4 separate regions of the Homo sapiens genome follow, and regions 1, 2 and 3 are each linked to region 4. Evidence: promoter capture Hi-C in human tissues and cell types (Jung and others, 2019). All regions are on one chromosome and are shown on one strand. The core of a region is centred on a gene start or on the middle of the fragment in contact, and the rest is flanking DNA. Distances in the headings are between cores, read along the strand shown. Region 1 overlaps PAK2 (p21 (RAC1) activated kinase 2). Region 2 overlaps SENP5 (SUMO specific peptidase 5). Region 3 has its middle 3.6 kb from the start of UBXN7. Region 4 holds the start of NRROS (negative regulator of reactive oxygen species).

Region 1 (2,884 bases), core at 14-2,513, 180 kb after region 4:
CAGTGAGCCGAGATCATGCCATCGCACTCCAGCCTGGTCGACAAAGCGAAACTCCGTCTCCATAAATAAATAAATAAATGTTGGTGAGAAGATAAGGAAACTAGAAATCTCGTTCATTGCAAAATATAAAATGGTACATCTGCTTTGGAAAACAACTTGACAATTCTGTGTGAAGTTAATACGGAATTACCAGATGACCTAGCGGTTCCTCTGCTGGGTACAGAGCCAAGAGAATTAAAATCATACATCCATACAGAAACCTTCATGCAGCCACAGAAGTGGAAATAATTCAAACCTGGTGAACAGTGGAATATTATTTGGTCATAGAAAGGAAGGAAGTGCCAATCCGTGTTACAGCATTGAACCTTGAGAGTACTGTGCTAAGTGAAAGAAGCCGAACAACAGATGGCAGCAGATTCTGACCGTCTGTTTCCTGAATGCTTTTCATCCAGTTGCCAAAGATTCCAGTTTATGTGGGCCGTTAAAGTACTTCTATAGAGGTGATTAGTTTAGACCACTTTTCAGAATGACATTAAAGCCCTCTAATGTTATTCATTCATTTAGCCAGTATTGGTTTGGGTACCTGCCATGCGCTGAGCACTATTCACAATGCTGTCTAAAAGAACCCACAAAAATTCCTGCTCTTACAGAACTTGTCTTCTAGTGGGAAAAGAGAAAAACAAAATAAATCAGAATAATGTGTCATACATTGAATAATGGACTCTTGAGTACTGAGACTGGCAGGAAGGAGGTTAGGGTGTTTACTTTCAAAAGGTGCTTAGAGAGCTGGGCACAGTGGCTCACGCCTGTCATCCCAGCATTTTGGGAGGCCAAGGTGGGAGGATTGCTTGAGCCTAGGAGTTCAAGGCCAGCCTAGGCAACATAGTGAGTCCCCATCTCTACAAAAAAATTTAAAAATTAGCCAAGCATGTTAGTGTGTGCCTGTAGTCACAGCTAATTGGAACCATCATCCTGCCCCAGTGCGTGGGTCACTTGGGCCCAAGGAAGATGAGGCTGCAGTGAGCTGTTATCACATCACTGCACTCCAGCTTGGGTGACGGCTAGGACCTGTCTCAAAAAAAATACAATAAAAATAAAATGTAAAATTAAATCAAAAGCGTGCATAGGGAGGGCTTCCCTGAGGTGACATTTGGACACAGGAAGTAAGAGCGTGATACTTACCTGAGGGAAAAGCATTCTAAGCAGAAGGCACAGCAAGTGCAAAAGCTCTAAAGCAGGAGCGTTCCTTGTGTATTGAGAGATGATTCTGGACCTCAGCACAGCTGGCGTACGCTGAGCAAACAGCGAGAGGTGCGGTCGATCGGCGAAGAAACCAGGCCAGACCGTAGTGCCTTATGAGAGCTCTGGAAGGATTCTGGCTTTTACTGGAGGCCAAATGGGGAAACTGTTAGAGAGATCTGAGCAGAGAAGCAAAGTGGTCTCCTTCAGTTTTAATAGGATTTCCCTGGCTGCGTTGTTGAGAGATCCCTGAGGAAGGCAAAGGCAGAGCAGAAGACCAGTCAAGAGGCTGATGTCATAATTCAGGCAAGCAGTGATGATGGCCTAGACCAGGGCAGTATCAGTGGAGGTGGGAAAAAGTGGTGTGAGTCTGGATGTATTTTGAAAGAAGAGTCTACATGAGAGAGAAAAGACTAACGGGATCTGTTCCCAAGTAACTCAACTGCATTCCTGTACAAAGCTGAAGAGTCTTACAGGGCTGCGTCTATAGCCAGGAGTACGCTCAGGCTTCAGAAGAGGCTCGCCTCCAGTGGCCTTCACTGTGGCAAAAAGGTCTACTTGAACCTCAGTGAGATCGGTAAAATCACCAGCGCCAAGCTCCTATCAGCAGATCCAGAAGCTGATCAAAGATGGGCTGATCATCTGCAAGCCTGTGACTATCCATTCCCAGGCTGGATCCCCGCAAACAAACAAACAAACAAACAAACAAAAAAAACACCTTGGGCCGGGCACGGTGGCTCATGCTTGTAATCTCAGCACTTTGGGAGGCCGAGGTGGGCAGATCACTTGAGGTCAGGAGTTCATGACCAGCCTAACATGATGAAACCTCGTCTCTACTAAAAATACAAAAATGAGCCAGGCATGGTGGCGTGCACCTGTATTCCCAGCTACTCGAGAGGCTGAGGTGGGAGAATTGCTTGAAACTGGGCGACAGGGAGAGATTCTGTCGCAAAAAAAAAAAAAAAGAAAAAAACACCTTGGCCCACAGGCATATGGGCATAACTGCTAATGCACACATTACCAAAAAGGCAGCCTGGATGAGGAAGATGAGAATTCCACCCCAGCTGCTCAGAAGACACTATGAATCTACCGAGATTGACCTTCACGTGTATCAGAGCCTGTACATGAAGTGAAGGGGGACGTGTTCAGAAACAAGCAGGTTCTTCGGAACTCATTCCAAGCTGAAGATAGACAAGGCCTCAAGAAGCTTCTCATTGACCAGGCCAGGGCACATGGCTCTAAGACCAGGAAAGCACTGTAGTTCCACGGAGAGTGCCTCTGGGCCAAGAGAAAATCATTAAGACTGTCCCAGGAGGAAGAAACTAAGAAATAAAGGTCTCCCTCTCTCGTCTGTACATAGTGGATCTTGGTGATTACATAGATCCAGTCATTCAAATACAACAAGATTTTATCTGCCTGATGGGGGGAAAAAGCATATTGGTAGGAATACAGAAATAGCCAGGACCCAGCAATCACCCAGACATCAGTCAAAGTTTACCAGACAGGCAAAGGAGCAGGCAGATGCAGCCCATAATGAGAAAAACTTCCAGGCAACTGGAACGGACAGAAGTTCATTAAAACAATCTCACGACTGCATTTCAGTTGTAAGAACTTTAAATGCATATTGCTTAGTGAAAGAATCCAG
Region 2 (2,822 bases), core at 300-2,799, 250 kb after region 4:
TGCTCTGTCACCCAGGCTGGAGTGCAGTGACGCAATCTCGGCTCACTGCAACCTCTGCTTCCCGGTTCAAGCAGTTCTCCTGCCTCAGCCTCCCAAGTAGCTGAGACTACAGGCACACGCTACCATGCCCGGCTAATTTTTTGTATTTTAGTAGAGACAGTGTTTCACCATGTTGCCCAGGCTGGTCTCGAACTCCTGAGCTCAGGCAATCTGCCCGCCTCGGCCAGTCTGCCTAAAGTGCTAGGATTACAGGCATGAGCCACTGCGCCTGGCCTAAAGCTTACCTATATTTGACTTTGAGGCTTCTAGTTTTTACGTCATGCTTTAAGAAGCCTTCTCTTGTCAAAAATCTATCCCATAAGGTAAACTGGTGTAAACATTTCTTTGGAAGACAATATGATAGTATAAATTATGGCCCATTCAGGCAATAGTTTGCTAGCAGCTGTTTAAGAATATAGATCTATATTTTGATACTGAAAGATGTCTATATAAAGTGAAAACAGGCCAGGTGCTGTGGCTCACGCCTGTAATCCCAACACTTTGGGAGGCCGAGGTGGGCGGATCACCTGAGGTCAGGAGTTCAAGACGAGGCTGATCAACATGGTGAAACCCCATCTCTACTAAAAATACAAAAATCAGCCAGGTGTTGTGGTGCGTGTCTGTGATCCCAGCTACTTAGGAGGCTGAGGCAGGGAGAATCGCTTGAACCTGGGAGGCGGAGGTTGCAGTGAGCTTAGGTTATGCCACCGTGCTCCAGCCTGGGCGACAGAGCGAGACTCTCTCACAAAAAAAAAAGAAAGAAAAAAAGTGAAAACAGTAAGTTGCAAAATGGTATGAAACCATTTTGTTAAAAGATATATATGACATATGTAGGATGAGTGTGAGTATATATGTGTGCATATGCATTTGTATAGGACATCTGGACAGATATTATTACCATTGGCTTTGGGGAGCTAGTTAGGAGGTTTATTTCTTGGTAGTTGAAACAGTTCTGAGCACTTTCTCTTTCCAACCATTAAGTATAATAAATTCTTCTGGCTGGGCACGGTGGCTCATGCCTGTTATCCCAGCACTTTGGGAGGCCGAGGCGGGCGGATCATGAGGTCAGGAGATCGAGACCATCCTGGCTAACATGGTGAAACCCCGTCCCTACTAAAAATTTAAAAAATTAGCCGGGCGTGGTGGCAGGCGCCTGTAGTCCCCACTACTTGGGAGGCCAAGACAGGAGAATGGTGTGAACGGGGGAGGCGGAGCTTGCATTGAGCTGAGATCGTGCCACTGCACTCCAGCCTGGGCGACAGAGCAAGACTCTGTCTCAAAAAAAATAAAAATAAATAAATTAGTAAATAAATTCTTCCTCATAGAAAGACACAAAGTACAGAGTCCTAGCAAATTAAAAAAAAAAACAACACCAAAAAACCTCTTGTCTATACTGTCCTAGAGTAAAGCCAGATTTCCCTACTGAGGTTAGCAGACCCATGATACTTACACCTGAAAAGAATTAGCATTTACCCACAAATGCCAGTTAACCTTTATAGATGTAACACTTTCAAGTACGGTTGATAAATTGAATATGCACGTAGTAAAACCTGTAGCATGACCTGAGGAAGTAGGAATTCTTACAGAATTCATGTGTAGTGACAATATAATTCACTATTTTAATAGGCCAAAGGGGAAAAAAATGGTATCTCAGCAAGTGCTGAAAAACCTGTTAGTAAAATTGTTTCCTTTTGGGTTTAAATCTCTTAGAAAACTAGTAATAAAGGAAGCTTCCTTGAATTACTAAAGAATATCAATCAGAAGCCAATAGCAGTTTCAGGTTTAAGAGAATGAAGTAAGCTCATGGACTCTCTTCTTCCTCCTACCAAATCCATAGAAATTATGAAAAAATATTAAAAACACATGTGTCTTCATACTCACAAATGAGGAGACAGTTTTGGTAGATCAGAAACTGAGAATCAGCTCCCACTGGGCAAAAAGTAGAGGGAAGGTCCAGGCGGGCAGAAGGAAGATTAGTACAGGGAAGTGGTGTGATACTGAGTGCTCATATTTCTGGAGATGGTGGAAGTGGAGAGGAAAGGGGACACCCATGGTAAGGACTGAGTAGTTGGGGAATCTCTCCCTGCCTGTGCCACATGTCAGCAAAGAACAAATCTGTTATCAAGCCAAAATTCTAAGGACAAGAGACAGGATACTCACCCACACACGTACACCTTGTAACACTTGGCAAGAGTGAGGAACATCCATTTTCAGAACAGCTGCTGGGGTTCTTAGTGTCCTTATTCCCACTGAAAATAGTTCAAGGCAGAGCAGCAGCTACTGCCCATTATAGCCCTTTGCCCTCAATTCTCAGCAAGTTACCTAAGTAGAGATGAACTAACAGTCTATCACCATCCTCTGAGAAAAGCCAACACAATGAAATAGACAAATTCAGCAAATAACAGAACTAAACCTCAGTATTGATTAATGGGGCAATGAGTACAATAGATAATCCTTTAAGGGACTTCTACAACATTAGCCACTATTGAGTTCTGTGGGGTGCTGAATGCTGGCTTGTCTCTAATATGACTGCACATTATGCTCCTTTCAGTTGATTTACATGTTTAAGAGTCAGTTATACTTAGGGGAGATTTACTTGTTGCAGTTTCATAATTTTATTCAGTATTACATAAAATGATGAAATATGAGTGTAAGAAGAAAGCTCCTCCTTTGAAAAACAAGGTGAATACTTTGCAATGACAGTAGCGGGTTGCTGCAAAAAAATGAATGCTGATGCGCTCATGCAGGACAGCTGCAAAAGATTTGAGGGCGTGCGTGAAAGT
Region 3 (3,149 bases), core at 611-3,110, 200 kb before region 4:
GAGGTGCAAAAACAGGCAAGGGAAGAAAGCCAAATCAAGAAAGTGTTACCTCTGTCTCCCTTCATCCTAAAGGCTGAGTCACTAGCCAGCCATGCAAAATCAAGCTCCACGTAAAATGGTATAACACCATTAACTACAAAAACTAAACACAGTGATTACTGTACCTCCATCAGATGGAGAGGCCAGTAATGAGCTCTGCAGGTTTATCAGGTTTATTTCCAAAATCTTATAATTCAGATTTAATGATATGATTTTGATTAACAGTGCAGGAAAAGGTGATAAAGTCTGTGGCATCCACAACTCCAGAAGGCATTTTTTTAGAAATTAAAAAATAAGATAAAAGAAAATTAGACAGGTGGCCAAAAAGATTCCATGGTCGGGGGGAGGGGGGGAAAGAAGGGAAGAAAATGAGACAGTTTCCATGGATAACCAGGGAACTGGGAAAAATAAATAAAGAAGTAATGAATAATACAACCTTGAAAAGCTTTTTTGGATTATTAAAGAATATGAAGGACTGACCAGTTGCGGTGGCTCACACCTGTAATCCCAGCACTTTGGGAGGCCGAGGCTGGGGATCACCTGAGGTCAGGAGCTCCAAACCCGCCTGACCAACATGGTGAAACACCATCTTTACTAAAAATACAAAATTAGCTGGGCGTGATGGTGCGTGCCTGTAATCCCAGCTACTCGTGTGGCTGAAGCAGGAGAATCGCTTGAGCCCGGGAGGTGAAGTTTGCAGTGAGCCAAGAATGAGCTACTGCACTCCAGCCTGGGCAACAGAGTGAGACTCCGTCTCAAAAAAAAAAAAAAAAAAAAAAAAAAAGAATATGAATATGAAGGATGGGTGTCGTGGCTCATGCCTGTAATCCCAGCACTTTGGGAGGCCAAGACAGGAGGATCACTTGAGCCCAGGAGCTTGAGACCAGCCTAGGCAACATAGGGAGACCCTATCTCTGAAAAAAGAAAAAAAAAGTTTAATTAGCCAGGTGCGGTGGTGCAAGCTTGTAGTCCCACCTACTCTGGAGGCTGAGGCGGGAGGATCACTTGGGCCCAGGTGGTCGAGGCTGCAGTGAGCCATGATGACACCACTGCACTCCAGCCTGGGTAAGATATGTGGAAATCACAAGGAACAGTGGAGGATCTCATACTAGTAACAGTAGAACTGTCACAACCCATACGTCCAAAGAGATGAGAACAGAGAGAAGTTAGAGAAATCCCAAGTGAGATTTTTTTGCAGAGCAAACCACCATGCAAGAAGCAATGACCTTCTGTCAAGGGACATAAATAAGCAGCTTGAGGCAATCTCAGAGAGGAGCTCAGGGACATAGATACCCTGACCTCGATCTCCTCTTCTGTCTCCTGCCAGGAATCCCCAATGGCTGAACCCAAATGGAAGACAGAGGGCACAGCAAGAAGCCCCTTGTAGTTCCCACAGGCAGCCCCGGGGCAGAGAGCAGGATGGAAAAGAGGAAATTGATGGACACAAATGTAAAATGGAATGGTCATGGAAATACATTCCAAAACTTGAGGAGCTTTTTGGTTTGTTTGGGTCTTTTTTGTTTCATCTTGTTTTGTTTTTTGAGACAGGGTCTCTCTCTGTCGCCCAGGCTGGAGTGCAGTGGCAGGATCTTGGCTCACTGCAGCCTCTGCCTCCTGGGTTCAAGCGATTCTCCTGCCTCAGCCTCCCAAGTAGCTGGGATTACAGGAGCAGGCCACCATGCCCAGCTAATTTTTGTATTTTTAGTAGAGACAAGGTTTCACCATGTTGGTCAGGCTGGTCTTGAACTCCTGACATCAAGTGATCCACCTGTCTCAGCCTCCCAAAGTGCTGGGATTACAGGGTGAGCCACAGAGCCTGGCCCGAAACTGATGGAGTTTTAACAGAAGCTAAAGGAGAATATATAAGCTTAACTGGTTATATTAGAGAAGAAGACTGGAAAATAAGTAGCTCAGCATTTCATCAAGAAGTTAATAAAGGAACAACAACTCAGCAGACAAGGAAAAATGTGAAGAAAAAATGCTAAAGAGCAGAAATTGACAAAATAGAATACAAAATACAGAAGAGAGGATTCATAAAACCAAAAGCTGGTTCTCTGAAATAACAATATGTAAAACCTTTGACAGGCCAGGTGTGGTGGCTCACACCTGTAGGCCCAGCACTTTGGGAGGCCGAGGTGGGTGGATCACCTGAGGTCAGGAGTTCCAGACCAGCCTGGCCAACATGGTGAAACCCCGTCTCTACTAAAAATACAAAAATTAGCTGGACGTGGTGGCGGGCGCCTGTAATCCCAGCTACTTGGGAGGCTGAGACAGTAGAATCACTTGAACCCAGGAGACAGAGGTTGCAGTGAGCCGAGATTGTGCCATTGCACTCCCGCCTGGGTGACAGAGTGAGACTCCATCTCAAAAAATAAAAAAATAAATAATAATAAAACCTTTGACAGATTAAGAACAAAGAGAAAGACACAAACAATATTATGAAAAAAAGACATAGCAGACATAGCCGTGGCTTGAAAAATAAGAGAATATTATGAATAATTTTATGCTGATGAATTAGGAAATAGATAAATGACAGTTTCCTAGAAGAAATAATTAACAAAATGGAACTCAACTATGCATAGACTTATGACCATTAACAAAATGAAATCTGCCACACAAATGACCACACCCCAGTGATTTTACAGGAGATTGCTACCAAAAAAGTTAAGAAACAGATTATCCCAAACTTATACAAATGCTTCCAGATAAAGAACAATGGGAACAAACAGCTCATTCTATAAGGGTAGCATAACCTTGAAATCAAATCAAACAAAATAATAAATGAGAATTCATCCTCACTCATGGCTACTGAAACAGATATCTTAAATTAAATCAGAATTTAGAAATCCACATATTCACACATACATGTACATATTTTTTTTATTGGGTTTACTTCAGGAATGCAAGCATAATTTTACAGTAAAAAGCTCTTACAAATGGCACAGTTGCTCGCCCCTGTAATCCCAGCTACCTAGGAGGCTGAGGTAGGAGGACCACTGGAGCCCAATTGTCTAGGAGTTTGAAGCTGAATGAGCTATAATTGCACCCTGCACACTCCAGCCTGGACACCAGAAACTCCAGAAAAAAAAAAAAAAAACACCTCTGTCAAT
Region 4 (2,916 bases), core at 403-2,902:
TTCCAGCTACTTGGGAGGTTGAGGCAGGAGAATCACTTGAACCTGGGAGGCAGAGGTTGCAGTGAGCTGAGATTGCGCCACTGCTCCAGCCTGGGTGACAGAGCAAGACTGTCTCAAAAAAAAAGAGAGAGAGTTGAGTTTGGGATACATCATGTTATGGTGACTCTGGGACATGTAGCAGTTGATTGACCAGTAGACAGTTAAAAATGCAAGTCTGGATCTTCTCTCGTGGAAGAGAATGTTGGAGCTAGAAATTAAAATTGGGGAGTTACCAACTGATTGGTAGACACAAAAGACATGAAGTAGAGAATGTGCATACAAGAGAGAAAGAGGCCTGAATCAAGCACCTGGGTTTGCAACAATTTGATCTTTATTTAGCTTTTTCATTGGTGTGATTGTTATTACCATTATGAGATAATATTTTATTTTTAAAATTATTTTTATTTTTTTAAAGACGGAGTCACACTCTATCACACAGGCTGAAGTGCAATGGCGTGATCTTGGCTCACTGCAGCCTCAACCTCCCTGTGCTCAGGTGATCCTCCCACCTCAGCCTCCCAAATAGCTGGGACTACAGGTGCGTGCCACCAGGTCTGGCTAAGTTTTAAATTTTTTGTACATATGGAGTCTCAGTATGTTGCCCAGGCTGGTCTTGCACTCAGGCGGTCCACCTGCCTTGGTCTGCCAAAATGCTAGGATTACAAGCCTGAGCCTCTGTGCCCGGCCATGAGTGAATATTGTAGAAAGCAGAGACAATGTGCCAGATGTTTGGAGTGAAAAGGACTTGGCTCCTGTTCTCTTAGGATGGACAATGCTACACACAATCCCAAATCACAGGCTATAAGAGAGGTGACCCAATCCTGCAGGACAGTTCAACGTTTCAGATTTGAAGGGGAGTGAGAGAGATCAGAACTGGAGGCCCCTTGTCTGAGCCCCCGACTATGGTGGTCCACGTCACTCCACACGCAGCAGGCACTGTAAATATTTCACCTTCTCTAGACGACAGTAGTTCCTCGAGAACAGGAGCGCTGGGGTAATGCATATGAAGCTCTTAGCACAGTGTCTGGCGCTGCTTCAATGATGGCTATATGATCAATTATTCTTACTCCTTTGAATTCTTGGCAAGAGCTGGCAGGGAACTTTGTACACATCAGGTACAAAAAAACCCATCCGCGCAGTCTAAGATCAAGAAGCTCTTGGCACTCTCTGACAGTCCTCGACAAAGCAATTCCCCTTCTTTCTAACACAGGGTCCGTAAAGGAGATGATCCACAAGGACCGGCTGAGTGGATAAGAAGACAGACTGGCTGAGCGGCTGACCCTGCCAGACGACAGGCTGTGCCTCTTTACCACGGTGCTGCCGTTCCCAAAGTCGGCCTCAGCTTGGTCCTTGGCTGGAAGCTCGTAGCAAAGTTTCTGGGTCAGCAGACCTCATAGGCAAGGGGCCCCTAGCTGGCCGCCCCCAGCCCTGCCAAGGCACCAACGCAAGAAAGCCGGGGGAGCCTCGGTCGCATTGCTGGAAGATCGTCTAAACATCCCCGCTGCTCGGCCGCTAGGCCGGCAGGTGTTCGGGCCCCGCTCCCCCGGCCCGCCCCACCCCCGCGCCCGCGCCGCGCTTCCCTCTAAGAGGCCGGGTCTGAGTGAGCCTGTGCTGAGTCGCCGAGCAGCCCGCTCTCCATGTGACTTCAGTTTCCGTCCGTTCCTTCCGCTGGTGCTAAAATAATCTGATGCCCCACAGCAAGGAGGTAGCCCAGCCCCGCGTTCGGCTGCTCTCGAGGAGGCCGGAGCCCCCGGAGACGATGCGCCCCGCGCAGCCGCCTGCGCCTGCGGGAGCCGTGAGTATTTCCCGCGTGGGGGCGTCCCCGGGGCACAGCCGGGGCCCTTCTCCAGGTGGGCGAGCTCGAGCGAGGTTGGGTGGTAGGAGGTCAGCGTCCGCGGCCCGCAGCTCAGGGCTCACGAGGAAGCTGTGGCTTGCTGCGTCCAAGCGCCGCCGCTTTTGTGCTGGGCGTGGGGGCTGCAGCTCTGGGTGGAGGTGGAAATACCTCCCTCCAGGAGCACTTAGAGCTGAGAAAGGTGGTGCGACGTAGTGGAAACCACGAGGGCTTCAGATTCAGACGTGGGTTTGAGTCCTGGCTCTGCAGGGAGCATGTGAGCAGACAGTTAAGGTTTCTGAGCCTCAGTTTTCTCATCTGCAAAATGGGAACAGAGATGCTCCCTCCCTGGGCTGGGCGACTGGATATGATGAGACCGCTCTGTGCACACTCAGCATGCTGAGCACTGGGCTCTCCTTTCCTGTCCCACAACGTGGATTGAGAACCACTATCTCATAGATGAAGACACTAAGACTGGTTAACAGCAACACCTATCACAGATGCCGTCCACGTGCCAGGCCTGTCCAAGGCCCTGGGGATACAGCTGTGAAAATGTGCAAAGCCCCTTCTCCCACAGAACGTTTGTCCTTGGGAGATTCACTGGGGCTCTGTGACTTGGATCTTAGCCTAGACTTAGATCCATGGCTTATCAGAGGGAGACTAACAGGAGGGCGACGAAGACTCGGACGCTCTTCCGTAGCCCTCGTGGCCCCTGCATGTGGGCCGGCTTCTGAAGGGGTCAGCGTACTTCCCCACGTACCCAGGAGCTAGACGGAAAGAAGTAAGGAGCCACTGGTGTGGCTTTGTGCTGCCTCTGAGAGAAGGTGGACACGTGCCAGTTGGTGGCTGCGACTGGAGGAGGCCGGATCGGGGGTCCTAGGAATGGAGCCTCTCCGGACAGGGCTGGTCGGGGCTGCTGTGCTTCCCTAGGGGCTGAGGGGACCCCACCGGAGGCTTCTTCATGATGGGCACAGCCCGTTAGGAGTCTGGGTGCTAGAAACATTCAGCGTCTGTGGCCCTCCATGCTTTCCTGTGTGCTCCTCACC

The links. The method cuts DNA at HindIII sites, captures the fragments that hold promoters and counts their contacts. A contact is called where the count stands out against the background at its distance.
Region 1: a contact is called between a fragment that was not itself captured here and the fragment with the promoter of NRROS in region 4, in 3 of the 25 tissues and cell types used here (H1 embryonic stem cells, spleen and thymus).
Region 2: a contact is called between a fragment that was not itself captured here and the fragment with the promoter of NRROS in region 4, in 1 of the 25 tissues and cell types used here (spleen).
Region 3: a fragment that was not itself captured here is called in contact with the fragment with the promoter of NRROS in region 4 in 1 of the 25 tissues and cell types used here (aorta).

Annotation. Positions count from the first base shown.
Region 1 is chr3:196,821,623-196,824,506 of GRCh38, forward strand. All of the region lies in intron 13 of PAK2 (p21 (RAC1) activated kinase 2), which reads left to right. Among named protein-coding and RNA genes, the nearest start is that of SENP5, 45 kb to the right of the region's middle. The HindIII fragment of the contact is 5,691 bases long and covers 1-2,884 here.
Region 2 is chr3:196,887,799-196,890,620 of GRCh38, forward strand. The region is part of intron 2 of SENP5 (SUMO specific peptidase 5); the gene reads left to right. Among named protein-coding and RNA genes, the nearest start is that of SENP5, 21 kb to the left of the region's middle. The HindIII fragment of the contact is 3,556 bases long and covers 1-2,822 here.
Region 3 is chr3:196,434,435-196,437,583 of GRCh38, forward strand. No RefSeq gene overlaps it. Among named protein-coding and RNA genes, the nearest start is that of UBXN7, 3.6 kb to the left of the region's middle. The HindIII fragment of the contact is 4,935 bases long and covers 1-3,149 here.
Region 4 is chr3:196,638,042-196,640,957 of GRCh38, forward strand. NRROS (negative regulator of reactive oxygen species) reads left to right here and starts at 1,653. Exons shown (of 3, transcript NM_198565.3): 1 at 1,653-1,834. RefSeq lists silencers at 1,290-1,719, 1,740-1,839 and an enhancer at 2,290-2,409. The HindIII fragment of the contact is 16,873 bases long and covers 1-2,916 here.